Regions from separate parts of the Homo sapiens genome. Here all the other regions are linked to region 5. Evidence: promoter capture Hi-C in 16 types of primary human blood cells and fetal thymus (Javierre and others, 2016). All regions are on one chromosome and are shown on one strand. Each heading gives the region's core, a stretch centred on a gene start or on the middle of the fragment in contact. The rest is flanking DNA. Distances are from core to core; before and after follow the strand shown. Region 1 overlaps TAGAP-AS1 (TAGAP antisense RNA 1). Region 2 overlaps SLC22A3 (solute carrier family 22 member 3). Region 3 holds the start of LINC02901 (long intergenic non-protein coding RNA 2901). Region 4 holds the start of LOC124901454 (a long non-coding RNA gene). Region 5 holds the start of TCP1 (t-complex 1). Region 6 has its middle 120 kb from the start of SLC22A3. Region 7 overlaps TAGAP (T cell activation RhoGTPase activating protein).

The links. Contacts are between HindIII fragments. The CHiCAGO score rates a contact against its expected background, and 5 or more counts as called.
Region 1: a fragment that was not itself captured here is called in contact with the fragment with the promoter of TCP1 in region 5 in 1 of 17 cell types (neutrophils); the score reaches 6.3 in neutrophils.
Region 2: a contact is called between a fragment that was not itself captured here and the fragment with the promoter of TCP1 in region 5, in 2 of 17 cell types (naive CD4 T cells and activated CD4 T cells). The highest score is 6.5, in naive CD4 T cells.
Region 3: a contact is called between the fragment with the promoter of LINC02901 here and the fragment with the promoter of TCP1 in region 5, in 5 of 17 cell types (activated CD4 T cells, monocytes, fetal thymus and 2 more). The highest score is 9.7, in activated CD4 T cells.
Region 4: a fragment that was not itself captured here is called in contact with the fragment with the promoter of TCP1 in region 5 in 7 of 17 cell types (total CD8 T cells, total CD4 T cells, naive B cells and 4 more); the score reaches 9.3 in total CD8 T cells.
Region 6: a fragment that was not itself captured here is called in contact with the fragment with the promoter of TCP1 in region 5 in 1 of 17 cell types (total CD4 T cells); the score reaches 5.6 in total CD4 T cells.
Region 7: a contact is called between a fragment that was not itself captured here and the fragment with the promoter of TCP1 in region 5, in 1 of 17 cell types (naive CD8 T cells). The highest score is 5.4, in naive CD8 T cells.

The regions. Positions count from the first base shown.
Region 1 is chr6:159,013,901-159,018,013 of GRCh38, forward strand. The region is part of intron 1 of TAGAP-AS1 (TAGAP antisense RNA 1); the gene reads left to right. Among named protein-coding and RNA genes, the nearest start is that of RSPH3, 16 kb to the left of the region's middle. RefSeq lists a silencer at 623-823. The HindIII fragment of the contact is 4,542 bases long and covers 1-4,113 here.
Region 2 is chr6:160,447,117-160,451,306 of GRCh38, forward strand. SLC22A3 (solute carrier family 22 member 3) reads left to right here. Exons shown (of 11, transcript NM_021977.4): 10 at 603-702; 11 at 3,880-4,190. The coding sequence ends at 3,940. Among named protein-coding and RNA genes, the nearest start is that of SLC22A3, 100 kb to the left of the region's middle. The HindIII fragment of the contact is 4,713 bases long and covers 185-4,190 here.
Region 3 is chr6:158,867,557-158,871,751 of GRCh38, forward strand. LINC02901 (long intergenic non-protein coding RNA 2901) reads left to right here and starts at 2,258. Exons shown (of 3, transcript NR_160980.1): 1 at 2,258-2,421. RefSeq lists enhancers at 1,232-1,904, 1,905-2,577, 2,478-2,647, 2,578-3,251 and a silencer at 2,078-2,397. The HindIII fragment of the contact is 6,622 bases long and covers 834-4,195 here.
Region 4 is chr6:160,518,769-160,522,683 of GRCh38, forward strand. LOC124901454 (a long non-coding RNA gene) reads left to right here and starts at 1,582. Exons shown (of 2, transcript XR_007059844.1): 1 at 1,582-2,064. RefSeq lists silencers at 1,546-1,675, 1,716-1,795, 1,866-1,975. The HindIII fragment of the contact is 521 bases long and covers 2,068-2,588 here.
Region 5 is chr6:159,788,106-159,792,279 of GRCh38, forward strand. TCP1 (t-complex 1) reads right to left here and starts at 1,497. Exons shown (of 12, transcript NM_030752.3): 1 at 1,300-1,497; 2 at 1-38. The coding sequence starts at 1,363. It overlaps MRPL18 (mitochondrial ribosomal protein L18), which reads left to right and starts at 2,362. Exons shown (of 4, transcript NM_014161.5): 1 at 2,362-2,534; 2 at 2,835-3,021. The coding sequence starts at 2,483. RefSeq lists enhancers at 695-1,359, 1,360-2,023, 2,280-2,459, 2,490-2,549. The HindIII fragment of the contact is 4,019 bases long and covers 1-3,478 here.
Region 6 is chr6:160,468,696-160,472,621 of GRCh38, forward strand. It overlaps the pseudogene LPAL2. Among named protein-coding and RNA genes, the nearest start is that of SLC22A3, 120 kb to the left of the region's middle. The HindIII fragment of the contact is 8,277 bases long and covers 1-3,926 here.
Region 7 is chr6:159,040,794-159,044,913 of GRCh38, forward strand. TAGAP (T cell activation RhoGTPase activating protein) reads right to left here. Exons shown (of 10, transcript NM_054114.5): 1 at 4,086-4,120; 2 at 3,327-3,411; 3 at 3,185-3,238; 4 at 2,796-2,862; 5 at 1,285-1,451; 6 at 561-722; 7 at 1-39. The coding sequence starts at 3,353. TAGAP-AS1 (TAGAP antisense RNA 1) reads left to right here. Exons shown (of 5, transcript NR_183546.1): 4 at 126-262; 5 at 1,005-2,263. Among named protein-coding and RNA genes, the nearest start is that of TAGAP, 2.1 kb to the right of the region's middle. RefSeq lists enhancers at 1-1,058, 1,632-1,901. The HindIII fragment of the contact is 4,627 bases long and covers 1-3,950 here.

The sequences.
Region 1 (4,113 bases), core at 975-3,474, 770 kb before region 5:
TGTTACCTATGGCTGGACTCAGTATATTCATTATGTTCATATAATGCAAATATTTAGAAGTGAGGCTGACCTGTTTTTTATATTTTTTAAAGTAAATCTCAGAATCAGAGAAATTATCATTTCCTTTTGATCTAAGAAGTTAGTGACTCACTTTAGTAAGAGAAATATTTTTAAAGGCACAGAAAAAAGACTAAGAATTATAATAATATAAGAAAATATTTCTGACTAGAAATATTACAGTATAACTATTGCTGGGTAATTAGCCCTCCGCCCACCTCTGAAATTACTGACTTGAACAATGTATTTGGAACCTTCAGAAACAAAGCCAATAGTGTATAAATACATACATTATAAGACCTTTATTATAGGGAATTTATTATGAGGAATTGGCTCATGGATTGTGGAAGATGAGAAGTCCCATAGTCTGCCATCTGCAAGCCGGAGACCCGGGAAAGCTGGTGGTACAGTTCCAGGCTGAGTCGAATGGCCTGAGAACCAGGGGCACTTGATGGTGTAAGCCCCAATTTGAGGGCAGGAGAAGACTGATGTCCCAGCTCAAGTAGTCAGGCAGAGGGAGCAAGTTCTACCTTTCCAGGCCTTTTGTTCTGGCCTGCAATGGACTGGGGAAGGAACACTGGGGAAAGCAATCTGCTTTACTCAGTCTATGATTCCAGTGTTAATCTCATCCAAACACCTTTACAGACATACCCAGAATAAGGTTTATCTATTCAGGCATCTTGTGGTCTAGACATAAAATTAACCATCACAAACAACATGCATTTATTGTGCTCAAGGGTTCTGTGGATCTGGAATTTCAACAGGGCACAGGAGGGAGGGTTTGTCTTTATTCCCTGGTGTCTGAGACCTCAGCTCAGTAAGACTCAAGCTGGCAATGACTTGGTAGCTGGGGGCTGGAAGCATCTGGAAGCTCTTTCATTGCCCTGCCTGGTGCCTGGGTTGTCATGACTTGAATACTAGGATTACTGAGCGGAGCAGTCACCAGCTTGCCCAGATTCAGAGAAAGGGGGACACAGACCCCAACCTCAATCAGCAGAGTAGCAAAAGAATTTCTGGCCATACTTTCCAAAACGACCTGGTAATAACTTGTTAACATCGGTTTTCTTTGGCTCATAGGATTTGGGATGGTGTTCTGTGTTGAACTGTGTCCCGCCACCCCCTTCCAAATTCATATGTTGAAGTTCTAACCCCCACTACCTCAGAATGTGACTATTTGGAAATCGTGTGTTAATTACTTAAGTTAGAATGAGGTCATACTGGAGTGGGGTGGGCCTCAAATCTAATAAAACCAGTGTCCTTATAAGAAGGGGAAATTTGGATACAGATTTGCACACTGGGAGGACACCATGTGAAGATGAAGGGAGAGGTCAGTGTAATGTTCTGTCAACCAAGGGATGCCAGAGATTGCCAGTAAAACACCAGAAGCTAGCTGGGAGGTGTGGAACAGACCCTTCCCTCACAGCCCTCAGAAGGAACCAACCAGCCCTGCCAACACCTTGATCTTGCACTTCTGGCCTTCAGAACTGTGAGACAAAAAATGTCTGTTGTTAAACCATGCAGTCTGTGGCACTTTGTTATGACAGCCCTCGCCAACAAATACAGATGGTTTTAAGGTTTTTTATACTTTTCATATTTTTGACAGGGAACATATATTTCTTTAATAATGAGAAAAATAGATTTGATTTAATTTAATGTTTTCAATTTCTTTGTTCCGTAAAAACATGAAAATATGCCAAAATCTTTCCATGGTTGTGTCTAGGTAATGTGACTACAGGTAATTAAAAAAATCCCATCTACTGAAAACGTTTTCTCTAATGAGTATGTGTCACCCTTATTATGGTGAGGAAAAGAAGGCTGGAAAAGCCACCATGGGAAGTAGAAAGAGCACCTGCCCTGGGTCCCACTCCGCTGGGGAGTAGCTCTGAGTCCGGCTCCCAGTGTGTAACAGGGGGAGTCTTCCTCAGTGTTGGGAGAGGCAAATGCATGCATCTATGCAGACACACACAGAATCCCGGAATCCAGTATCTGGCGCTGGGGCCTGGTGAGCTGCACTTTGCCTCCATTCTCCACAGTGTGGTTTACAGCCTGTGGCTGTGATTACGAGTGGTGGTGGAAGATGTCAGTACTTTAAGATATACATATATATATTTTAAAATATCTATATATGGATATATATATTATATCTATAATATATAGATTATATATCACCTATATATAGATAATATATATATAGAGTACTATATATATATAATCTATCTATCCATCTATATGAGAGAGAGAGAGAGAGACAGAGAGAGAGACAGAGACAGAGTCTTGCTCTGTCACCCAGGCTGGAGTGCGGTGGTGTGATCATAGTTAATTGCAGCTTTAAACTCCCTGGGCTCATGCAATCCTCCCACCTCAGCCTCCTGAGTATCTGGGGCCACAGGAGCATACCACCATGCCTGGCTAATTTATTTATTTATTTATTTTGTAGAGAAAGCATCTCCCTTATGTTGCCCAGGCTGGCCTCAAACTTCTGGGCTCAAGTAATCCTCCTACTTTGGCCTCCTGAAGTGCTAGGGTTACAGGCATGAGCCACCATACCTGGCCACAAAAAATATTTCAACCACAATCATGTCTCTTTTCATGCTGACTTACCTCGTTGAATGGCCCTGGAGTGGTCATGGGGATTTTAGGACTAGGCTAAGGGAAAGCTGACTTATGGATATATTTAGTTTGATTTCAGTGAATGTCTTAATCCATTTCAGCTGCTATAGCAAAATCCCATAAACTGGATGGCTTATAACAACAGAAATTTATTTCTCACAGTTCTGGAGGCTGGGAAGTCCAAGATCATAGCACCAGCAGATTTGGTGTCTGATGAGGGCCCCTTTCCTGGTTACAAATGGCACTTTCTCTCTTAATGTCCTCATGTGGTGGAAGAGGTGAGGGGTCTTTCTCAGGCCTCTTCCATAGGGCACTAATCCCACTCATGAGGGCCCCAGCCTCATGACCTCATCACCCCCCCAAATGCACCACCCCTTAGTAGCATCACCTTAGGGGTTAGGATTTCAACCTAGGAATCTTGAGGGAACCCAAACATTCAGGCCATAGCAATGGGATTTACTTATGTGCTTTGCAATCACTTCCTTAAGTAGGTAAGTTATTCATAACTATCCTGGGGTGGGAGGGGCTTTCAAAGATAGTCCTACTGACCACTGTGCCTACTCACCAGGCTTGTGACGTGTGCTACGAGAAGAACACTTTTTGCAGAGCCTAACATTGGCAGTATGTAGGTAGTAGAGGAACATTTGAAATATATAGAACCAGCAGTCTGCAGGTATTTTTCCAGATTTTATAGCTCCTATATGAAAAACACTTGGCAGAGATTTCTCCAAATTTGTCAATAATTCTAACAATTTACATGACATTATCAATGAGTTGAGAAGCTGAAATAAATTATTCTAAACTATTAATGTTGGAAAGAACTCCAAATTTTAGCCAAATTAAAGGAAAAACAACTTTTATTCTCACTAGAGAAAATAATTTTAAATCTTTATTTTTTAGGAAAAAAGTGTTTTAAAAGAGCATGCAACTAAAAAAGATAGGAAAGGGAGCACTACCGAAATGTCCCAGGCAGTTAGTAAAAATGTTATTTCATATTTTGGTGAAAAATTTTGTTTGCTGTATTTGTCAGCGTTATTAAATTTATGCTTTATGTTTTTTTGTTCTAGATACATATTTGTGTTTATGATTAAATTTGCATTTGTAAGTTTGCCTTCTTTTTCTTGTAGAGAGCCTCCAAAATTATAAAAACACAGAGCCCCTCAAAATCTGAGTCTGACCTGAAGGAGCCCAGCTTTCAAATCGATCCTTGTTTTCCCACAAAGTTGTTATTTGAGTCTGATGCTACTATTTAGAATTGTAGGTTCTCTGTTTTTCCATTTCCTACAGAAGAACTCAGATTGAGAAAAGCTATTTACCAATCATTTCCTTTTAACCTAAAAGGTTTCAGTGACTCTCTCTAGCAAGAGTTTGAGGGTGCATGCTATTTACCTAGTCAGAGCAAAACCATGATTCAGAGTGTGAGAAAATGGCTCTCATTTTCCTAGG
Region 2 (4,190 bases), core at 1,291-3,790, 660 kb after region 5:
AAAGGATGGTAATGGAAGGATGAGGTGAGATTGAGAGAAGGCTGGTCAAACAGGAAAGGTCTGAATGTGTTTGAAAGCTTCTCCCAATAGGTTGAAGATACTGGAGGAAGGGTTGATCCCTACAGTGAGGAGCCCAAAGAGACAGGCCTAGGAGAAGGCTGGTCCCGGAGTAGACACCAGGACAAGCTTTCCACTGTAAGGTAACAGGAGGAATCGGAGGGAGAGGGGCAGGTAAGTGAGAGTGTCAGTGAGCGGGCGCAGAGGGGACTCCCCTCCAGCACTTCTGTTTCCCTGTGATGCAGGAGAGGAGGCCTTGGGTGTTGGACCCTAAGAAGGAACTCAGTCAATCACTGTGAGATGTGTGAGTGAACACATGGCTGCCAGGTATACAGGGGCCGTGGTGCTACTCAGGGTTTGAGGAAGGGAGAGAACCTTTGAAGCTGTGGTAAGGGAGAGCTGGGGCATTGATCTGGGATGCAGAGGTTGCTGTGGTTGAGAGCTACTCCAGTGAGCAACATGATGGCTTCAGAGTGAGCAGGCCCCATGGGAGAGGGCCCAGCTGTGTCTTCCTGGAGCGGTAACACCTTTCCCCTATTCCATAGGTATCCTGGCATCCATCTGTGGTGGCCTTGTGATGCTTTTGCCTGAAACCAAGGGTATTGCCTTGCCAGAGACAGTGGATGATGTAGAAAAACTTGGCAGGTACTGTACAAAATTCAATGCACCCTAAATAAAAGCAATATTTAAAACCACGGGGGAAAGAATGACATTGAGAAAATTGAATATCCACAGGGAAAAAAATAAGAATAAATCCTCATCTCATATTGTAAGCAAAAAATTCAAAGTAGATACAAAAGGTTAACATAAAAAAAACCCTCCAGAGCTAGATAAGAGTATGCATTGTTTTTTTTAATGTGGTTGTGAAGAGAGAAGCATTTTCACATAAGGTGCTAAGACTCAGAAGTGATCTAAAGGCAGGAACTGCTGATGTGGGAAAGTGGAAATTGCTGGGACATACAGCAGCAGGGGATTAACAGTGTGGCTTACTCTACAGAGTGAGGATGCGTCAGGTCTGTCTAGATGGAATGGCATAGGCAGGTTTTCAAGACTGACTACAAAGTGAAATGTCACTGAACAACATGTTATAGTATTTATAAAAAACTAAAACCAAAGGTGTTTTCTCTCTGCAGCTGGATAGGAAGACAGATGACACACAGATGATAGATAATAGGTAGATGATAGATAATAGGTAGATGGATGATAGATAGATATAATAGATGATAATCATAGATAGATAAGTGATAGTAGATAAATGATAAATAATAGATGATAGATGATAGATAGATACAGATAGATAAATAGACAGGTAGATGATAGGTAATGTCTGGATAGATAGGTGGATAGATAAATAGATAATAGATGATAGATAATAAACATTAGTAGGAAGATAGAGAGATTGAGTTTTGGAGGGGGGTGTTTAAATAGGGTATAAGTAAAACTAATACCCAGCCAATATATTAACATGAGGAGTAATGTCAAGAAAAATTCACATTACACAAATTCTTTCTAATTGTTTGAAATTTTTTCATTAAAACATAGAGATATGAATATGAGAATGTATAGTACAAGATGTAAAATATTAATATGTGCCCTCTGTGGACACAAATGGGCTGGGAAGAGGGGTAGGGAAGGGAGGACCATCACTTTCTTGCCAGAGACTTCCATACTGTTTGATTTTCTTTAAAAATTAGAACACGTAGTCTTGTGTTGCTTGTGTAGTTTTAAAAAATGATGTAACAGCTAATTTAACAACTAAAAAGCAATCTTAATAATGACTTAGGAATTAAGAACATGGAGCTCTAAATATTTTTAATATATAAAAAATCCTGAGGAACAGCTTTCTTCCCTTTGATTCTATTCCACTGACTGCCTTCTGTTTACACAATGAGAGTGATGCTTTCATTCTTTATCCCCAAACCAATCAGGATCAGATTTGCAAACTCATCAGGAAAAAATGGAAGAAAAGGGAGTCCTCTGAAATCAAGACTTTTCTACTGCTTCAGTAACATTAAAAATAAACAGCTAGGAGAGGTTTTTTTGTTTTTGTTTTTGTTTGTTTTTGGCTTGGGGAGTGTGGGTGGAAGGGGGTTGTCTAAATGGTGTGCAAGGAAAATCAATACCCAACTAACATATAAACATGAAGGATTATACCAGCAAAAATTTAAGGTACCCAGATTCTTTCTAATTTTTTTCTGTTTATAATTTTTCATAATGAAAAGTTGGGTACATTAATTAATTATACCTAGTCTCTATACATGAAAAAAAATATAGTAGAAGTATGGTTTACAGTGCTACAATTTAAGCACATTAATTGTGATCCATGGTTATTTACTCTACAAAAATTACTTAGTGCTAAATTACTAAAACTTGCTAGCATTTCCCTTTTAAAAATCACACTGGATTATTTTATCGTTTCTGCTGGTTTTTGTTCATGTTAACAGCTCATTTCCAAATATATGTTAATTCAGTAGAAGTTCATAAAGAACTTAAATGCTATAATGCTAACAAACCCCTGTATCAGAGGAACCAGCCCCCAATATTTCAGCATAGGTTCTATTTTCCATAAGTGTTGGCCAGCTGAGAAATAAAAAGAGTACAAAGAGAGGAATTTTACAGCTGGGCCGCTGGGGGTGACATCACATATCGGTAGGACTGTGATGCCCACCTGAGCCTTAAAGCCAGCAAGTTTTTATTAAGGGTTTCAAAAGGGGAGGGGGTGTAAGAACAGGGAGTAGGTACAAAGATCACATGCTTCAAAGGGCAAAAAGGAGAACAAAGATCACAAGGCAAAGGGCAAAAACAAACATCACAAGACAAAGAGCAAAAGCAGAATGACTGAAAAGGGTCTATGTTCAGCGGTGCATGTATTGTCTTGATAAACATCTTAAACAACAGAAAACAGGGTTCTAGAGCAGAGAACTGGTCTGACCTCAAATTTACCAGGGCGGGGTTTCCCAATCCTAGTAAGCCTGAGGGTACTGCAGGAGGCCAGGGTGTATTTCAGTCCTTATCTCAACCGCATAAGGCAGACTCTCCCAGTGCGACTGTTTATAGACCTCCCCCTAGGAACGCATTCCTTTCCCAGGGTCTTAATTATTAATATTCCTTGCTAGGAAAAGACTTCAGCAATATCTTCCCTACTTGCACATCCATTTATAGGCTCTCTGCAAGAAGAAAAATATGGCTGTATTCTGCCCGATCCCACAAGCAGTCAGACCTTATGGTTGTCTTCTCTTGTTCCCTGAAAATCGCTGTTACTCTGTTCTATTTCAAGGTGCACTGATTTCATATTGTTCAAACACACATGTTTTATAATCAATTTGTACAGTTAACACAGTAGTGGTCCTGAGGGACATACATCCTCAGCTTACAAAGATAACAGGATTAAGAGATTAAGGTAAGAGATGCATAAGAAATTATAAAAGTATTAATTTTGGGAACTGATAAATGTCCATATTAAAATGAAATATTCACAATTTATGTTCAGAGATTGAAGTAAAGACAGGCATAAGAAATTATAAAAGTATTAATTTGGGGAACTGATAAATGTCCATATCAAAATGAAATCTTCACAATTTATATTCCTCTGCTGTGGCTCCAGCTGGTCCCTCCATTCAGGGTCCTTGACTTCCTGCAACACCCCTAAGGTCTGAACACAGACAAAAAATGATCCTGGAGACAGATATTGTTGTTACCTTAGAGTTGGGTTTTCATGAATGTATTTGATCAAAACCAGCTATACTATTAAATAATAACAGAACACCCTCTTCTAACTAGTTACATAATCTTTCCTAAAGACTTTCTCCTTTGTTTTTTCAGTCCACATTCCTGTAAATGTGGCAGGAATAAGAAAACCCCAGTTTCCCGCTCTCACCTTTGAGGCCCCCGACAAAGACAGAAAGAAGGAGCTATCCAGGAGCTGATCCTCCTTGCAAAGCTGTGCCTTGCAGAGATGCACGTGTGCATTTCAGCTACATCATGCCGCGCTGTTGTAATACTGTATAAAGACCTCAATCTATCCAGAGTATTTTTATATAATGTTGGATGAGTTAGGATTTGTAATGCTGTTGAAGTTTCTGGGAACACATAATATGTAGCCAGTTTAACAAAGAAGCTGTCAGGTGCACAGC
Region 3 (4,195 bases), core at 1,008-3,507, 920 kb before region 5:
TGAGACTGTAGGCACCCTTATTTTCCCTCTCACATAGCAATCTTTTTTTTTTTCTTAAGACAAGGTCTCGCTCTGTCACCCAGGATGGAGTGCTGCGGTGTGATCACAGCTCACTGCAGCCTGAACCTCCTGGGCTAAAGTGATCTTTCCACCTCAGCCTCCCAAATAGTGGGGATTACAGGTGTGAGCAACCACGCCCCACAGTAGCAATCCTTTTCTTAAACCAGCAGCAGGACAAATGTCTTCCTGAAGATTTGTAACACCTGGTAGTGATCCCAACTCCTTCTGGGCCCGCTTAAGACTAAGTTTCTGGTTAGGAAAGAAGAAACTGCAGAGCTTAGTAGTTAAGGGCACACAGGAGTCAGACAACCTTGGGTGTGAATCCCGGCACTGCCATGGTACTAATGTGTTGCATGAGTCATGTTGAGAGGTGAGGCCAGCTGGACTTCCTGGGTCCAGTGGGGACTTGGGGAACTTTCCTGTCTTACAAGAGGATTGTAAAACGCACCAATCAGCAGGATTCTAAAAGTAGCCAGTCACGGGAAGGATTGAAAAAGAGGGCACTCTGATAGGATAGAAATGGAACATGGGTGGGGACAATAAGGGAATAAAAGCTGGCCACCCCAGCCAGCAGCGGCATCCCACTTGGGTCCTCCTCCATGCTGTGGAAGCTTTTTCGCTCTTCACAATAAACCTTGCTACTGCTCACTCTTTGGGTCCCGGCCATCTTTAAGAGCTGTAACACTCACCGCGAAGGTCTGTGGCTTCATTCTTGAAGTCACTGAGACCACGAACCCACTGGCAGGAACCAAGTCCAGACACAATGTTATGCAAGCTTTCTAGACCCTTTCTGTAAAATGGGTATAATAATAGTATCTAAGTCATGGGGATTTTGTGAGGATTAAATGAAATGCCTGTTAAGCATTTAAAATGCCTGGCACATTGAAAGTTCTTTTTGGAGACAAGTCTTGCTCTGCCGCCCAGGCTGGAGTGCAGTGACATGATCTCTGCTCACTGCAGCCTCTGCCTCCTGGGTTCAAGCAATTCGGTGCCTCAGCCCTGAGTAGCTGGGATTACAGGCATGCGCCAACACGCCCACCCAATTTTTGTATTTTTAGTAGAGATGGGGTTTCACCATGTTGGCCAGGGTGGTCTGGAACTCCTGACCTCAGGTTATCCTCCTGCCTCGACCTCCCAAAGTGCTAGGATTACAGGTGTGAACCACTGCCTTTGGGCCAAAAGTACTTAATTCTTATTGATGTCCACATTCAACAATTACTAGGTTTGTTTTTTCTGCATCCAGCTGCAAATGATCTTCAAAGTTGTGAACTCAGGAAATCTCAGAGGCGTTTATAGGCTTTCCAACCAGAGATGATATTTGTAATTCAAAGAAGTAAATAGAAATCCTTAAGAGAACCCCTTTCAAGCTAAGTTCCCATCTAATATGGAGTGGTGGCTTCGAATGATCCTTTTGGCTTATCTTTTTAAGTGTAAGAATTTTTGATGAATCACACTTCGTACCTATTTGGTCACTTTCACCAAAGTACAAAACCAGTCTGCCACCAGAAGAAATTTAATAACCTTGAGACTCAGAGAAGCAATGCTGCCTGATTGGTGGACAGCCAGACCAGTGAGGGTCAGACGTGGCTCTTCGGCTCCGGACACGGGAATGTGGTGGAAATGAGATCCTCCAGCGATTCTAAGGAGTGTTTTGTTCTTCTGGCTTAAGAGAAGGGCAGAGGACAGAACCAAGGGGAAAGAGAGACAGGCCCAGCCATTGTCTGACGTGAGGCACGATAACACATTAGAGGGCTGGTTTAGCAAAGGGCAAGGTAGAGTTGGCATTAGACGCGCTTGCAAAGGGAGGCGGGCAAGAGCTTCAAGACGCGAATGACACTTGAGCAGCCTGGGCTCACGTCTGGTAAGGTTTACGCCGCCTGTTCCCGCCATCTGGCAACTCCCTCCCAGAAGGGTGAGTTTGGTTCTTGGCAAATCCCCTTCGGACACACAAGCTCTTTTATTAAAATATAACCCCACTAACAGATTGCAGACTAGGCACAGAAGCCCCAAAGCACCCCCAGAGACCGCAGCAGTCCCGCCCCGCCGCCCCCGGATCCGCGCGGCTGCCAGAAGCTCCCCTCCCCCAGATCTTGGCCCCTCCCTGAGGCGCGCGAGCGTGTCGTCGCCCGCTCCCGGCCAATCAGGGCGCGCGACCAAAATAGCGCCATATAAAAGCTGGATGGCGGGCGCGGCCGGTGCAGAGCCTCGCGCTGGGGTGGGGTTGCGCGCGCAGGTGAGGGGGGCGGGGCCGGCGCGACCGGCGGGGCGGGGCGGACACTCCCACCGCGCACCTGCTTCTGCCTGACGTGTACCCGGAAGGTCGTCAGCTCAGGCTCCAAATATGTAACAGTGAGTTTCTAAGTGAGTCACACGGACGCGGTTGGTTTCCAGTGAGGCATAACTCATCGCTTCACTCTTCTCAACGGTTCCCTCTTCGGAAGGAAGCGCAGTCCGCAGCGTCGTCCGAGGGCGTGATCGCCTGCGTCGCACCCGCGTCTCCAGTGGCCACCCCTTGTCCTACAGGAACGCGCATCTGCTTAGCAGGCGCTGAGCCCTTGAGGAGGCCTAAAATGAATGAACGCGGCTGTGCCTCCTGAGCAGGCTCACAGTTGTGGGTGGGGGACAGAAGGGTGTCCATGCCTAAGGTCGACGGCGATAAGACAGACGTTCTTCCCAGGAGGAGATCAGTTCCAGGTGGGAGGCATTTCTAGGAGTCACCTTTCTCCGAGGAAGTGACCTGAGCTGTAGGAGGTGGAATCACAAAGGCTTTGGTGCCCTACACACCTGGGTTTTAGCCTCAGCTTGAGTCACTCACCCAGTCTGTGACGCTGAACACATCAGGAAACCTCAAACTTTCCCCATCTTTAAGATGCAGATAATAGCCGGTCACCATGGCGTGTGCTTGTAATGGCAGCTACTCGGGAGGCTGAGGCAGGAGGATCTCTTGAACCTGGGAGGTGGAGGTTGCAGTAAGCCGAGATCGTGCCACTCACTCCAGCCTGGGCAACAGAGCGAGACTCCATCTCAATAAATAAATAAATAACACTACATGACTGATAGCATATTTTTGAGGAGCATCTCTCCCCCTCCGTGCTTGGGTTTAATCCCCCCTTCCTCTCTCCCTCCCTCCCTTCCTCCCTTCTTTCTTCCTTCGTTACGTTTCTCTTCATTTCTTTTTTTCTCCATCATTCCTTCATTTTTCTTATTTTTTCCTAACTGATATAATTTACACACAATAAATCGCACAGAAATTAAGAGGACAGCTGGGTGAAGTTTTACATATGTATACACATGTCATTAGCCCCTAGGTCAAGATCTAGAACATTTCCATCACCCCAGGTTTCCAACTGCTCCTTCCGGTCAGTAGTACTTCCCCAGAGGTAACCACTATTCATTTGGACTTAAATTACCAAGTATGAGTTGTGTCTACTCTTAAACTTCATGTAATTGCAATCAAGCATTATGCTTTATTCCAAACTTGTCCAACCCGCACAGGCCACGGTTTTGAATGTGGCCCAACACAAATTTGTAAACTTTCTTAAAACATTGCGAGATTTTTTGTGACTTTATTTATTTATTTATTTTTTTGAGACAGAGTCTCTGTTGCCCAGGCTGGAGTGCAGTGGTGTGATCTCGGCTTACTGTAACCACCGCTTCCCAGGTTCAAGCGATTCTCATGCCTCAACCTCCCGAGTAGCTGAGATTACAGGCTGGTGCCACCACACCTGGCTAATTTTTGTATTTTTAGTAGAGATGGGGTTTCACCATATTGGGCAGGCCGGTCTCAAACTCCCGACCTCAGGTGATCTGACCACCTCGGCCTCCCAAAGTGCTGGGATTACAGGCATCAGCCACCGCGCCCCGCCATGTGATTTTTTTTTTTTTTTTTTAGCCCATCAGCTATTGTTAATTTTAGTGTATTTTATGTGTGGCCCAAGGCAATTCTTCCAGTGTGGCCCAGGGAAGCCAAAAGATTGGACACCTTTGCATTTCTGTTTTTTTTCACCCACCGTAGTGTCTGTAAGATTCCTCCATGTTATCACACGTATCAGTAGTTTGAAGTTTGTTTATTACTGAATAGTATTCTATTGCATGAATATACTTAAGTTAACTTATCCTTTTTACCATTGATGTG
Region 4 (3,915 bases), core at 1,078-3,577, 730 kb after region 5:
TAAATTCCCACCAACTGTTTTTAAAATTCCCTTTTTTTCCTGCATCCTCACCAGCATTTTTTATTTTTTGTCTTTTTGATAATAGCCCTACTAACTGGGGTGAGACAATAGCTCGTTGTGGTTTAGATTTGCATTTTCCTGATTAGTGATGTTGAGCACATTTTCATACATTTGTTGGCCATTTGTATGTCTTCTTTCAAGAAATGTCTGTTCAGATCATTTGCCCTTTTTTTTTAATTGGGTTGGTTTTTTGCTGTTGAGATGTTCGAGATCCTTGTATATTCTAATACTAGCCCCCTGTCCGATGAATAGTTTACACATATATGAGGCACCACGAGATCCTTTACACAGGTTAGTTCACTTACTCCTCACTCCAACCCTATGAGGGAGGCGCTATTACTACCACTCTTATTTTACCCATAGAGAGTTCAGCAGAGGTTCATAACTTCCCCCAAAGTCACACAGCTAGTGTGGCAGATGGAGCAGGGTTGGATGCCAGAGCCAGGCCCTCCAGCCCCACGCCTCGTTGCTGCAGGAGCCCTCCAATCTGCAGTCACTGCCACAGGCATCAATGGCACTACCCAGAATAAGGATTTATTGAGCACCTACTGTATTCACAGAACTCTAATCAGTCTGAAAGTCCAAGCAATGAAGCAAACAAAGCCAAGGAATGGCAGAAATGGCAGAGTTCAAACCAGAGTCTAGGGCCTGAAGTGCACCGCATGGGCCAGGTTAAAGTGAATGAAACATTCCTATTTTGATCCTTTTCATTATTTATCATTCATACCCCTAACTACCTTTAATGCGATTAGTTTTAGATGTAAAAACAACAAATACGCTACAAATCAGCTCTTCCAACATTTTCTTCTCGTGAAAAAGGCTCTTTGAAAGCCCTGTTTTGCAGAAACTTGCTCCTTTTGCATGAATGGTAAATCATAGGAGACCTGGTAGATTACGCTACATACTTAATGTGAAAGGTTGCTTCATTCAAGAGCCTGGAGTTTTCAGACATTGTCCTGAAACTTCCCTGCCTAGGGTAGGGTAATGCCAGCGACGGCAGGAAATAGCTCTGACGCACTTAAGAGTTAAATACAACCTACAGAAGTTCTGGCTGGGTGGGGAAAACCTATTGCTAAAGAGAAGAGCTACTTTTTTTCTTTTCTGGAATTTGCAAACAGCATTTATTCTCAGCCTTACCTTCCACAAGCTCCACCTGGAACATTGCTGGGCAGCGTGGAAACAGAAGCAAACATCAGCCAGGCCGGCAGGGGGCAGCAGACCCCACATTTTGCCCTCGCCTCCCGTGGGAGGGAGTGCCCGGCTCCCAAAATCCTGTGGCGGGTTTTGTCCCAAGCGACTTCAGCCAGCAGATAGTTCGTGTCCTTCTGAGGCCGCAAAATTTGGGGTGGAAGAAGTGGGGCGTGAGGCTGAGAGTGAGGAGAGCAATCCAGGGTCGCCAGGGTGGGAGCCGCAGCGGGCCCTAGGCCTCCGGGAGGACACTGATGCTTCCGGACCGCGCGAGGCGCGCCGGCAATGCCGGCAATGGACGTGCGACAGCGGCACGAGGCGGGGCACCGGGAGGGGATGCGGGGGGAGGGGGGACTCGGGCATGGCGGGCTTCAGGTTCCGAGCCCTATCCCTGCGGGGAGGCGGCTGAGGCCCAGCGAGAATTCGAGCGCGGTGCGGGCGGGCCGGCAGTGCTGGGGGGACCCGGCGCACCCTCTGCAGCTGCTGGCCCGGGTGCTAAGCCCCTCACTGCCAGGAGCCTGCGGCGCCTGCTGGCTGCTTTGAGTGCGGGGCCCGCTGAGTCCGCGCACACCCGGAACTCGCGCTGGCCCGCGAGCGCCGCTCGCAGCACCGGCTCCCGCCCGCGCCTCTCGCTCCACACCTCCCCGCAAGCAGAGGGAGCCGGCTTCCGCCTCGGCCAGCCCAGAGAGGGGCCCGCCACAGCGCAGTGGTGGGCTGAAGGGCTCTTAGAGCATGGCCAGAGTGGACGCCAAGGCCGAGGAGGCGCCCAGAGTGAGCGAGGGCTGCTAGCACTTTGTCACCTCTCAATTTGACGTTGTAAGCTTCCTTCCACAGAGTGACCTTTTTCATGCAATCGATGTGCTCCTGTGTCAGCTATGCAAAATAATTTTTGTTTACTGAATCTGGTTTAAAAGGCAAGAAGTTGCTTCCCATTGGGCACTTTGATCCTGGTGAAACGGGATGTGTATGCCTGGAAACATGGACAGTCACATGCACTGCTTGGTTTTGTGTGGAACTAACATGAGATGATCTTTTCACTGATTTTCAGAATTGTGGAGAATTCACTTAGGAAAATAAGCATGTGTATCAATGCATGACCAATATGGGCGTTTACTTTAACTGATTTCACAGAAGCAGTGCTCCTAATATTTTGAGCCACACAGATTTTATCTGGTGCCTCTTTATGATATGATCAATTAGCTGCTTACTTCATAAGTTATGTGGAGTGGGGAAGATACTCCTATTTTCTCTTTAAATGTCTTTTCTCTGATTTAAAGAAGTAATAAAGGAGAAATCTTTTTGCTATATTTTACTTTTATCCTCCACTATTCTGAAGTTTAAGCTTCAATAATTAATATAAGTACAGTAAAATTAATATTTTAAAGGTAGCTGATATGCTTGATAACCAGAAAATATTTCATTTTTTAAAAATTCTATTTCATCTACTAATTTGATCCATATGATCCATATGCAAGGGTATGTAAAAGTCTATATATAGTCATATGACAAAGGTATATGGTGTATTGAATTTATACTTTTATTGTTCATCACTAAGACCCTTTTTTACTTTAAAAGTGGGTTATATAGACCTGTGAAACATGCAACAAAAATGAAAACACTGCACCTTTTTGTGGTTCTGTAAACACACAAGAAAAGTGGAGGTCAGGATCCATGCTGTTGGCCAGGTATTAAGTTGGCGTTATCAGCAATCACTGTAGTCTCTGTGAGTGCTGATGAATCTGAATGTCATGCCTTGGGAATTGCTTTTTTGACTAGATTACTGGTTTGAGGTTGTTGCCGTTGTGTTTTTTGTAAGAGTAGAAATTCACAAGTGCACAACGTTGGATTTAGGTAAGTGGAAATTTAATGCAATCACAGCAGTGCCTCATACAAAGAAAGTGATCAACAAATGTAGCCATGATAAGGGTCACTCGCTAGGCCAGTTGTCACCTACCCCTCTGCTGGATGACAGCCCTTCTGCATCTGCACTCAGCTCCCGCGTTTCCGGAGCTTCTCTTCTCAGACCATGCAGTGCCCAGAGCTTCAGATCTGTCCATATCCTTCATCAACACCTCCTGAAAGTATGAGACCTTGCAGAGGCCCATGTCTTCCAGGTGTTGCCAAGACAGCTGAGACAGAGCCCTGGAGTCCTTTCTTATCATCCCTTGATCAGGGTGTCTTATATCTGTTAATTCTACAAATAGCCATTTTTTTAAATGTCATTTATTTTAAACCAGTAGCTCAGCTGTCCTGTGCCAGCTCCACACCCTCAACTCTACAGCTGATTACACAGTTCATTATTATGCTAATTTAAGAAATGTTAAATATATGCAAACCTACAGAGGGAACAAACACTGTAGCAACTTACCAACTTTCCCACAACCTGCAGTTAACAATTGTGAACAGTTTGTCATTTTAACTTTTCCCCAGTCCCTGGAATTTCCTCATCTCTAACCCAGTCTCCCTCAACCACTCATGATGAAGTGTGTACCCATCCAATCTGTTTTGGAACATTTTAAAATTATTTTACTTGGTTTTTTTTAAATCAGCTTTATATATGCACATAGTTTAAAGAGTCAAAAAGTTCTGTCCAGGCATGGTGGCTCACACCTGTAATCATAGCAATTTGGAAGGCCGAGGCAGGAGGATCATGAGTCCAGGAGCTTG
Region 5 (4,174 bases), core at 247-2,746:
ACTTTTTACAATATTGGCAATCGAAGCTGCAGCCATAACTGTAGACAATCAATTAAAAATAAAAAAGAAATGAGGATAAGCCACAACTCTGAAAGACAGTAATTTCAGCCTAAAGGTAAATGACATCCAACAGCCCCCGTATTTCCCAAATCTACAAATCTGTGTTAATTATTTAAAAACCACCTACTAAGAGTGTAAATGGGGCCAGACACTGTGGCTCACAGGTGTAATCCCAACACTGCGAGGCCGAGGCAGGAGGATCGCTTGATGCCAGGAGTTTGAGACCCCTTTGGGCAACATAGCGAAACCCATTTCTACAAAAAATAAAAACAAAGCCGGATGCGGCGGCGCGGACCTGTGCTTGGAGAATGCAGTGAGCTATGATGGCACTCTCGTCTGGGCGACAGGTGGGACCCTGTCCCTAAACAAAGCGAGCCTATTTGGCACAGCTTTGATGCGGGGTGGAATCTGATGGCGGGGAAAAAAAAAAAAAGTAATAACCACCAATTTCATGCTCTGCCACTTCGTACAGCTATACCAGCCTTTTCCTTCAGATTCTGCAAGTTTTTTGCTCATTAAAACTCTCTTTATCTGTGAGGAGAGAAATCGGTAGTCAACGGGGAAGGTGGTGACTTTCAGATTTGTTTACGAAAAAAATTAGGAATCTATCAAGAAACAGTAAGCTCTGTAGGTATCCAAAGGCCTGACAGCAAACGCTCTGCTAAGTTAGCGCTGCCGTCTCCTGGGGTCAATGCACTCGAGTGGCGTTTCCTGGGCTAACTCTACTGTAAGAAGCTGTCAACCCGGATACGGCTGGACGCCGGACGCCCGACCTCGACTGCAGCTGCGGGCGGACAGGGCACCGGGCTCATCCGAGGGCGCGCGGATGGACCTACTCTTTTTCTGGTAAATGGTCCTAAAATAAAACCTGGCGTTTAACATGGACACTCAGGGGGTCGCCCTGAAACAAAAGGGGGTGCGAGGCGTGGCCCGCACGTGCGAGCCCGGGAGGCCCGCTTTCCCGCGGAGGGCGCGTTTCCAACGCCGCCCCGGACACCACATCCACGCGTTGCCGGTCTCAAAACCCTGCCGCGCGCGGCGGGGCTCCTCCTCGCTGTGGGAAAAGTGGGGCCACAGCGCCCTGCCCCAGAGAACGGCGGGTGGGCTGGGTCCGGCTGCGGGGCCCCGAGGCCCTTTCTGCGGAGGTAAAGGAGAGAAACGAGGGCAGCCGGGGTCCGGTCGCGGTGGGACTCGGCCCTCCCCGGCCGCAAACCCGACCCAGGCCCGGCCCGCCCTTACCGTTTTGGGAGCGGATCGTTTCCCCAGTGCTGCGGTCACCGAACACGGACAAAGGCCCCTCCATCTTGACGGCAGCGATACACGTCGAATTCTGCTTACACCGCGGGCAACCAGTATCGCGGCCCCTCGGCCGACCGGCGACCACAGCAGTGGCTGCGACGGCGTGGAGCGTACCCGAGCGATGTCCCAGGAGCTACTGGGTAACACACCACCCCACCCGCTTCCCGGCTGCCCCGGCCCGGCCGCGGGGCACGGCGGGAAGGAAAAAGAGGCAGGGACAACAGGGAGAGAAACAGGACTGTGACGGAAGTGAGGCTCCGGGGAAGGGGCGGGGTCGGCATTTTTGTCCAATTAGATAGCCGATGGGAAGGGCGCGAAAGCGGAGAACGGAAGTCGGATGTTGGACCGCTGGGAAGAGGTTGAACCTTCGCCTCAAACGATGTTGCGCAGACGCAGTGGGCCATTCTAGTGCCTTCTAGAAAAGGTTGTAAGAAGGGTGGAGCTTGGAGCTGGGGTGTAACTGGAGGGGCGGGCCCTTCTCCAAGTTAGAGTTGGGGTTCTGAGCGAGTCGTGCGTTTTAGGTTTAGTGTCTTTTCCTTGTCCCTGCTCGGGGAGCGTGAGGCAGATCGGCCGGCTTTGCTCCAGGCCTCAGGAGTGTAAGTTTAAGGGCGCGAACCTGGGTGGGACGGGGCAGTTTTTCCAGCGGGCCATACGGGAAAATTTTTGGTTCGAGGAAGACAACCACCCTTTTTAAGGAGAAAACTGCATCTTGCCCTGCCTTATTCCTACGCGGTGCCCAGGTGGGGTGTGTGTGGACCAGTCGATGACCGCCCAAGCTCTCCGAGTAGAAAACCCAAACATGGTTTTGTGGGGTGTGTGCCTTTGACCCCGGACTTAAGCAACAAGCGTGGTCTTGGGCGTAGCTACGAGGTGGTTGGTGGGCTCCAGGGCCTGCGTGCCCCTCGACGTGAGCGATGATTGGCGATGAAGGATAACAGATCGCCTTCTCGGCCACTCAGTGGCAGGGGACTTGCTACTTCCGGGTCGGTGGCGTCTGGCGTGGAGAGTTTGGGGATCTACAGCAGCCAAAGGCTTGTCCCTGACTTTATATGGCTGCTCCTGGCGAGCGACTGAGTCGTCCGTGAGGAAAAAGAGGCGAGGCTTTTCCGAGATCGTCTCAGCGATGGCGCTTCGGTCGCGGTTTTGGGGGTTGTTCTCGGTTTGCAGGAACCCTGGTAATTAGTCTTGCCCCCCTTCTCCCAGCTCACTCGCCTGGGCTTGCACAGTACATTGGAACGTGCGGGTTCTATTTTGTATTCGACGTGCCGGATCGAAATAGAGCTCGCGGCACTGCGAAGACCACAGTAGGAAGTTAAGGACGGGGTCAGTGCTGACTCCACCCTGTGGGCATACGTATTTTTCGTCCCCTCGGGCCTAAAGATTGGGGGTGTAAAAGCGGATAGACGTTAGAGCGGGTTCGTGCGCTGTCCATATCCGTCATTTTTAAGCCCTGTGCGGTTTTTCCCGTTGCCCAGGGTGCAGGTTCGCAGCCCTGTCAACCAGCTCCGAGCCGGCAGCGAAACCTGAAGTGGACCCTGTGGAAAATGAAGCTGTCGCCCCAGAATTCACCAACCGGAACCCCCGGAACCTGGAGCTTTTATCTGTAGCCAGGAAAGAGCGGGGCTGGCGGACGGTGTTTCCCTCCCGTGAGTTCTGGCACAGGTAATTAAATCTGCTTGTGATTGACAAGGGCAGTGCACCCTACAGACTATTTTCATTCATTCAACTCCAGGCACTCTCCCAGGTAGCTGCCATGCGGCGGGTAGAGGCAGGGTTCGCGGAGGGGCTGGAACAAACAACAAATAGGTGTGATGGGGGCTATTTAAAGAGGATGTTACAGTAGCGGACAGGATACCTGCCTGTCTGAGGTGACATTTAAGAAGGTGAGATCTGAAAGAGGAAGAAGCCTAGTCATCTGCCAGAAAGAGCAGTCCTAGCAAAGGAAACTGCTGGGGTGAGGAACTGAAGGGCTTGTGGATCTGAAGCTCAATGGGCAGAGGATGAATGGCCCAAGATGAACATGGAGGGGTAAGGAGGCGACAGATGATTAGCTTTGTAAGTCAAGATGAGCACTTTAGACTTTCTTTTCATTATAGTGGGAAACTACGAGAGGATTTAAAGCTTGAGCCCGAATTGGTTTTTCAAGATCATTCTGGCTGGGCGCATTGTCTCATGCCTGTAATCCCAGCACTTTAGGGAGCCAGCCGAAGAAGCCGGATCATCTGAGGTCAGGAGTTTGAGACCAACCTGGCCAACATGGTGAAACCCCGTCTCTACTAAAAATATAAAAATTAGAGGGGCGTGGTGGTGCACGCCTGTAATCCCAGCTACTCCAGTGGCTGAGGCACGAGAATCACTTGAACCCAGGAGGCGGAGGTTGCAGTGAGCTGAGCGCCTGGGCGACAGAGCAAAATTCTGTCTCAAAAAAAAAAAAATCATTTTAGCTGCTTTTTGGAAGATTAAATTTTTGAGGGAGCAGGACTTGAAGAAAGACCAGTTAGGAGTCTAGTATGACTTGAGATACTTTGTTATAAAGGTGGTTGTTTAATGAACACTTACATTTGCCAGGAATTATGCTACTTGCTTTATATGTTTTTTCTCATTTAATCCTTAAAATTACATCATGAAGCAGTTATAATTTCCCCCATTTTACAGGATCAAAGAAATTGAGGTTTAGGGAGACATGATTAGTAAGTGCCAGAGCTAAGATTTACATATGTTTTAACTGACCTCAGAGCCAGGACGCTAGGTTATTACCACTATACTACAGCATGTAAGTGTTTATCAGGTTTATCTGCTGCTTATCTGCTTGGTG
Region 6 (3,926 bases), core at 385-2,884, 680 kb after region 5:
CTGAGATCATATATAAATGTGCTTAAGAAAGGACCAGAATACCCTCCTTCTACCTTCTGCCAAACACATACCTCTGGAGGAACCGGTATAGATTTTGAAGTGTGTCTTATAGATTTTTTATGCACATACAAATACACCTATGTCTCTCTAGCTCTCTGTATCTCTCTCTATAGGATTGTATATTAATATGTGAGTTGGAACTAACATATATTTCTCCAAGGAGGAAATGCCATCCAAGATGATATCATTCCCAGGCCAGCCCCCTTACTCTCTGTACTCGTTGTGTAGCTAAAAGGCTCTGCATTTACAATGAAAAACAACCATGAAAATAGTATTACTGTCAATACCATTTCAGGTGGGTCAAGTGGGTTTGAGTCTACAAGACTTATAAAAGCTGAACTGGAAGACTAGCTCCCAGGCAGGATGCTGTTTCTCTAGGATGGGTTCCTGGGCAGGACCTCCTCTCTTGCTCTCAGTCCATCCTCTGCTGGCTGCAGCCACTCCGGGACTGAGGGAATGGGGGATGAGATGAAGGAACAGTGGGACCCAAGGCATAAAGGGAGATGGCTGGCTAGACTATGGGATCTGAAGAGGTCAATTGACTATGGAGGAGGCAGAAAAAAAATTGAATAAGAGGCACAGCAGGTGAGGACCCCAGGGTTGGGGGCATCTTGGAGAATGTGCTCCCCTTCGTTCCTCCCAGGAATGTTGCTTCAACCTCTCAGAATCCTCACATTCATGGCCTGTGGCTGTCTGAGAAAACTTGAAATGTATTATGTACCATGGGAATGCAACACTATCTCTGTAGAGACTCTACACATGTGACCCAGTCTCAAGCCCAGACTCCCAGCTACAGGAGGCTGGTTCTCCAAGCAACTGGATATGTTAGCAAGTGTGGTATTCGAAGGAGATTTTTTTATCTATTTTCAACTGAGGTACACTTTCATGTATAGTCAAATGCACAGATCTTAGATGTAGTTTGATGAATTTTGATGAACATGTACACTTGTGTAACTCGCAAGTTACGATCGTGACACAGAACATTTACATCACCCCAGAAACAACTTTTGTTTTACGGCAAAATCAATCTCTGCTAATTTCTTCCCATGGCCAGAGGCAAATGATACTGGTTTCCTTCAAGAGAAATTATTTTTGCCTTTCTGGAACCTTATATCAATGGACTCATATATAATGTTCATTTGTGTTATCTGACATCTTTCCTTAATGTAATATTTTTGAGCTTCATCCATGCTATTTGAGAGTATCATTAATGTGCTCCCTTTTATTGCTGAATAGTATGCCATTGTATGAATAGATCGCAAATTATTTATTCATTTTCTTATTGATTGACACTGTAGTTGCCTACAGTTTGGGGTATAAAAAATAAAGCTGCTATGAATATTCTTGTAGATCTCTTTGTGGAATTATGTTTTCATTTCTGTTGGGTAAATATTCAGGAATAGAATTGCAGATTTGTAGAGTAGATGTGTCTTTATTGAACTTTTGGAGAAATCATCAGACTGATTTCCAAAGTGGTTTTATCATTTTGCACTTCCACCAACATACGAGAGAGTTGCATATCCTTGCTCTACATCAGTGACATCAGTTACTGTGGTGTCTTCTTAATAATATCCATGTCCACTGGGTGTTTGGTGACATCTCATGATGGTTATAATTCTTTATTTTTCATGGCTGAGATATTGGACATTTTTTCAAGTGCTTATTGGTTTTGTGTGTATCCATCCCTGAGAAATGCCTATTCAATCTGTTGCCTTTTTTGATTAAGTTGTTTGTCCCCTGTTTAGCAAGTGGGAGAAATGTTTCTATACTCTGGACACAAGCCATTTGTCAGATAGATAGAAAGAGAGCATTTTTCTTCTCATGTGTTATTTGCTTATTTATTTTCTTAAAAATGACTTTTGGTGGGCATGAGTTTTCATTTTATGAAAGCCCACATCATAATTTGTTTTCTTTTATAGTTAGTGTTAATGACTCCTCTGTCAAAAAAAATTGCCTTCTCCAAGGTTGTGAAGATTTTATATTTTCTCTTGGAACTTTCATATTTCAGTTTCAGTTTTAGCTCTGACACTTAGGTGGAAGAGATATCTCAAATTAATTTGAGATGAAAAGTAAAAGTCAAGGTCTGTTTTTGTTTTCTATCATGGATATCCAAATGGTTCAGAATGATTTTTGTAAAAGATTATTGTCTCCATTTAATTGCTTTGTCATCTATATAGAAAATCAATTGACCATATGTATGTGGGTCTGGTGCTGGACCATCCCTTTTTAGTTTTGCATACTTTTTTGCCAATAACGCATATCTTTTTATTTTTTGAGATAGGGTATCATTCTGTCATCCAGGCTATAATGTAGTGGCATGATCAAGGTTCACTCATGCCTAGACCTCCTGGGTCAAGTGATCCTCTCCCCTCAGTGTCCTGAGTGGCTGGAACTACAGGTGTGACTCATCACACCCATCTAATGGTTCATTTTTTTTTGTGGAGAGAGGGTCTCGCTCTGTTGCTGAGGCTGGTCTTGAACACCTGGGCTCAAGCCATCCTCCTGCCTCAGCCTCCCAAAGTGTTGGGGTTACAAGCATGAGCCAAGGGTCCTGGCCAATACCACGTCTTGATTCTTGTACCTTTATAAGTCTTTATATTAAGGTATGTAAGTCCTCCACATTTTTTCCAAAAAAGGACTGCAGCAATAGTGTTTGGGTGAGAGTTTAATCCAAAGATCAATTTGATGAGAAGTGATATTGAGCCTTTCAATCTATAAGCATGGTGTATCTTTATTTAGATCTTTTAATTCTTTCCTTGACAACGTTTTCTAGTGCAAGCTGTATAGTCCTTGTGCATAGTTTGTTAAATTTATCATTAAATATTTTTTGGTTTTGATAACATTGTCAGTGATATTGCTTTAAAACATTTATTTTTCCAAATGATCATAGAAAGTATACAGAATACCAATTAACTGTTATACACAGAGCATGTGTATATTTTTTAGGACTGTCTGCATCCATTAATCAGGTTTTCCTTCTGGTTTTTCATTCTTTCTTTTTGTTTTCATTTTTGGGTCTTGGTGCAAAGGCTGTGACCATTGTAGTGAAGTGGTGATGAGAAGTATTGAGAGCAAACATCTTTCTTATTCCCAATCTTAAAAAACAATAATATTTCACCATTAACATGATGTTTGATGGAGGTTTTACACAGATGCCCTTTATGAGGTTAAAGGAGTACCATTCTGTTTCTAGTTTGCTGAGACATTTTATTATGAAAGAGTGTTGAATTTTCTCATATTTCCTTCTGCATCTATGGATATCATGTGATTTATCACTTTTATTCTGTTATTATGTTGGATTACATTGTTTGTTTTGCAAATGTTAAATCAACCTTGCATTCTCAAAGGGAAGCTCCAGTTTTTTTGTGATATTCATCACATTAATGATAAAAATACATTTTAATATTGCTGGATTTAATATCCCAATATTTTATTAAGTCTTTTTGTGTTTATTCACTATAGACAGTATTCTGCAGTTTTTTTTTCAATATCCTGTGTACTTTTTTAACTGGGTTTTTTTGTTCTCACAAACTGAGTTAAGAAGTATTCCCTTCATCTCTATTTTCTGTAACATACTGTGAAAAATTGGAATTATTTCTTCCATAAATAACAAAATTTCTAATGAAGCCATCTGGGCCTAGAGATTTCTCTGTGGAAGTGTTTTGATTTTTTAAAATATGTATTATTAAGGAATATAAACATACGTAGTCTTGAATAGGTATCACACTGTTTAGCAATTCAACTTATTCAGTGTCTGACCTGCATATTTGTTTTCTTCCTAAGGAATCAGTCCACATTATCTAAGGTACTGGATTTGTTAACATAAGTTGTTCTGAGTATTTTCTTATTATCTTTAATACCTGTAG
Region 7 (4,120 bases), core at 387-2,886, 750 kb before region 5:
GCTTGAAAGTAGCTTCCGGGGGATACTTCTGAGGAAGTCCTGGGGGATGAGAGTGGGCTGTTGGCCTATTGGTACTGTATGATGTCCCATGTCCTTGTTTTCACCCGGTTTTCGTTCCATCGCAGGGTGCTCTATGCTTAGCCCATCATAGATTGTGGCCCTTCATTCCTGCATTTGATGAATCCAGGGAACCCTCTCTCCAACACCCTTGGCCTCTCTGCAACTTTCTAACATCAGGCAGAGTCAGAGGCACCATCCCCAGGTGGGTGTGTTCTGAGGGGCCACTGGATTTTGACGTATGGATTCTGCCACGGAACAATCAAATTGCCCGTACTTGGCAAAGTTTTGGGAGAGCAGAATGCATCACTTTCTGTTGGAATCTGAGGTCACAGAAACAGAGGTGCTTACTAAATAAATAAATAAAGGGCTTAATGAAAAAAATTAAACTCCAAGATCAGTGTACCTTGCTGTGTGGGGAGAAGAGCCTATTTCTTGCATCCTGAGAATGAGTGTGTCAGGGCCCCTTGGCAGGTTATTTGGCGCAAGTGTGTTGAACTCACCTTAAAGACCACAGCGAGGAGGTGCACGGGGAGCCTCTCCAGATCCACCGCATCCCCAGAGTTGAGCTCCTCCTTCAGCTCCTTACGGGCTTTCTCGTTGGCTGCTCTCCTGAATATCCCTTCCGTTGAAGGGCCTTTAAGGCATAGAATAGTGAGAATGTCCTAAAGGAAACAGCAATAGGAACAGGAAAGGGTTACCCTTCTTCTTTAGTATACTGAGATAGTCTTAACAGGAATATTGATGTCAGATTTTGCTTTCAGTCCAGTTGCTGTCAATGGCCTTCCTCAACCCTGCTATTTTTCTAAGAGGAGGCAAATTGTGAAAGCTCTAATTTTGCACTTTCTAAAATCACTTTGGAGCTCTCTCCTTTCAAATACTTCCATATGAACATTGGATTTCAGATCACAAAGTCTATATTCTGTTTCCCCCTTTTGACTTTTCAGAAGCTACAAATCTTCAGCATTCTCCACTCTGTGAAGTCAGAGGAATGGCGGGACCATAGCTCTGAGCTCATTGGCAAATACAACTAATTTCAATTTCTGGAATGGAAGCAGTCAGATATTCTTCTGACTGCACGCGTATGTGGGAGTGCCATGTTGAAGAGTGGAAAATATGGAAGATCAGTCCCTACAAACTTAATAGGAGAATGACATTCAGATTTCCCGAGTATTTTGCATGTCCAACTGAAAACTGAAGTAGGTTTATGAGAGAATGCACGCCTACCTGGATGGGTCTGGGGAGTGTGTCACTGTCACCGCAGATAATTGACAAGGGCTGATCAAATAGCGATGCTTTCAAGTCTGTCTCCAAAGCCCCAGAAAAATCTGATGCAGGGGAGAGCCTTCTCATGAGAAAGGGCCAGGACAGCACCTTCTTTCTCTTCTTAACTTCTACAGCCAAGAAAACAAGGCAACGAGAAAAATTAGACTACAGTGTTAAGAAGCAAAGATCCAGGTAAGAAAATGGGTATCGTTGGCCGCATAATGTGGTCAATAGTATGCGATGTGAGAAAAATAATTTTGAAAACTTGAGAAAGCAAAGGGCGTGAATCTTAATCTAGAAAAACCAACCGATAAACAACCACACTGTTACCAGGGCAACCAGTTCCCTAAACAGCAACACCAGAGTTCCTCAAGGCCTCCACCTTTCCTGTTTTCACTCTTTCCAGCTGTTTGCTACAGAAAATTAGCAAAACCTAACTGTGCTGATCATAAACAACCATCTTAACCTACTGGCCTGAATAACTATAGAGGAAATTTCTGATATGAAATAGATTATTTTGATTTCCTCCTTTAACTGGCGAAGAAAACGAAACTTAAAAGGTGAGGAAGTGACTTGCTGAATATCTTTTCGAAGGCACATAGCAGGGCTGGCTCCAACCCTTTGCAGCCACGCAGGCACTAAACAGCCACTAGAGGGAGCTAACACCATTTTTCCTTCCAGGTGACTGGTCACCTTGGGTTTTCCAGGTTGCTGCTTTAGGACAGAGGCAAATACGAATCGCTGCGGGAAGCCTTGAACCTAGATCTGGCAACTGGGAATTATCAGCAAAACGTTATCAAGATATTCTGTCCTTCTGAAATCCACAAGATGTGTGTGCAATGGATATTGCAATCTCAAACATTTCCTTCTTTCTTTTCTTTTCCTTCCTTCCTTCCTTCTCCTTTCTTACTAATTATAAAGGCTATATTTTCTAAATGCATTGGCATCTGTTTCTATACATTTCAGATTGGCAAGTGGAAGCATGATGAGAAAGAAGTGGCCTGTCTTTATGGTTCAGGAGAACTGGGTCAGGGTTACGCTATAATGAAATGCATTATGAAAAAAGTTGAGAGTGAATGGTGGGTCCTTTGGGATTTGAGATCAGCAACAGTTGCTTCATAGGCTCTTGGATGCATTCTCCATAAGAGAAGGAAGAAAATGGAAAAGACACTGTGTGTTTTTCAAATGTGTGCATGCTAATTGTCGAAACATACATGGCCAGGAGATTGAACCGCATTAAAAACGCTTGGCAGAACTGGGGATTCTCTATGGAGAGGCTCTTTCCTTTCCCAGCACTCCCTGCTCTAGTGAGTTGGAGCATACCTGCCATTTAAGGGTTAATGTTCTGCGGTCTTTAACAGAACAACTTATACAAAAAAATTCCTAGTAGAGTAAAAGCGCTGTGGTTTTGCAAACCAAGAGCACTGGTTGTTAGCACTTACATAAAAGATCGGTATGTTTTTAAAACTCACCAATGAGCTGGCAAATACTGTCTTCACTCTCACATGATGCCAACAGGGGATGTTCCTTGATATCACCCTAAAAACATTTTTATTTCAGTTAAATATAGTGACTGAAGAAACCTATCGAGTCTTTCCCCACAAAACACACATACAGCATTTTATTCATATTAAAAATGAAGTCAGTAGAGTGCATTGATGTTTTTTCTAGCTTCTAGAAGCAATATTAAGGTCTTGATTGTCATCATATAAGATCCTAATTAATGTGCTTAATTTACTACATGTGTGATGTTAGTTTACTACTCTTATAATTACTATTCAACCCAAATAATATTCAATTAAAACAAAGTTTTCCACCTTCTCACAGTACAGATAAAAAGTCTTAAAAATTGCTTTCTTACCTCTGATTGACATTCGATTAGTGTCTCCATATTATTGGCGTTTAGTGTTTTTGACTAAAAGAGAAAAAATAAAATTAGGTAAATATCTTTTGGCCCTTGCCTGTAGGAAACGTGAATGAATGAATGTGAGAGGGGCACTCACAGCATTGTGGCTGCTTCTCAGCTTCATCAGTATTGCGGCTGACTGTCCAGGGGTGGATTTCACTCCCGTGTGGCTGTGCCTCTGTCTACAACGAATCACATGGAAAGGAGTTAGGAGGGACTCACACAGTAGGCCACTTTCAGCGCCACTTTGCCAAAGCACAGAGTTTGAAACTATTTATTTATTTTTCTCTTTTGCTATTTTTTCACTTGCCTTTACTTTGGAAAAAACTATTACATAGACAAGTTTTCATTTAAAATCAGTTCTGTTACCAGATGTTGTATGTTGTTAAGAGCAGCATCTGAACACAATTATTTCTAAATTATTTAAGTCAACTATCTTTACCACTCTAAACGTTGTTACCAATTTATTCCGTTCCATCAAGAGATAATCTGGATATCAATTACGTTAACATTTTAAATTAACATGAACATTAACTTTTTTGGTGGAGTGCTGACTATATGCCAGCTGTCGTAGTAGGTGCTTTGCATGGATTTTCTCATCTAATCCAAAAAGGAAAAAAAAAAAAACATATCCCTAGGATGCTAAAATAGTAAACATGAAACAAAGATAACATTTACAGAACTCCTACACCAAAAAGGTGCAGCCTTCACGTTGAAGCAAAGCTTTGTCCTGAGACTTTATAAAGTGAGAGCATATTCCACGGGATAGCTGTTTTCTGTTGCCTGTGATCTGAGTGACCTGTGACTTGCGAGGCAGCTTGTAATTTCTAGGCATGTTAATATATAGTGTACTTACCCTTGGAGGGTCTCTAGCCAGAGTTCTTTTACATC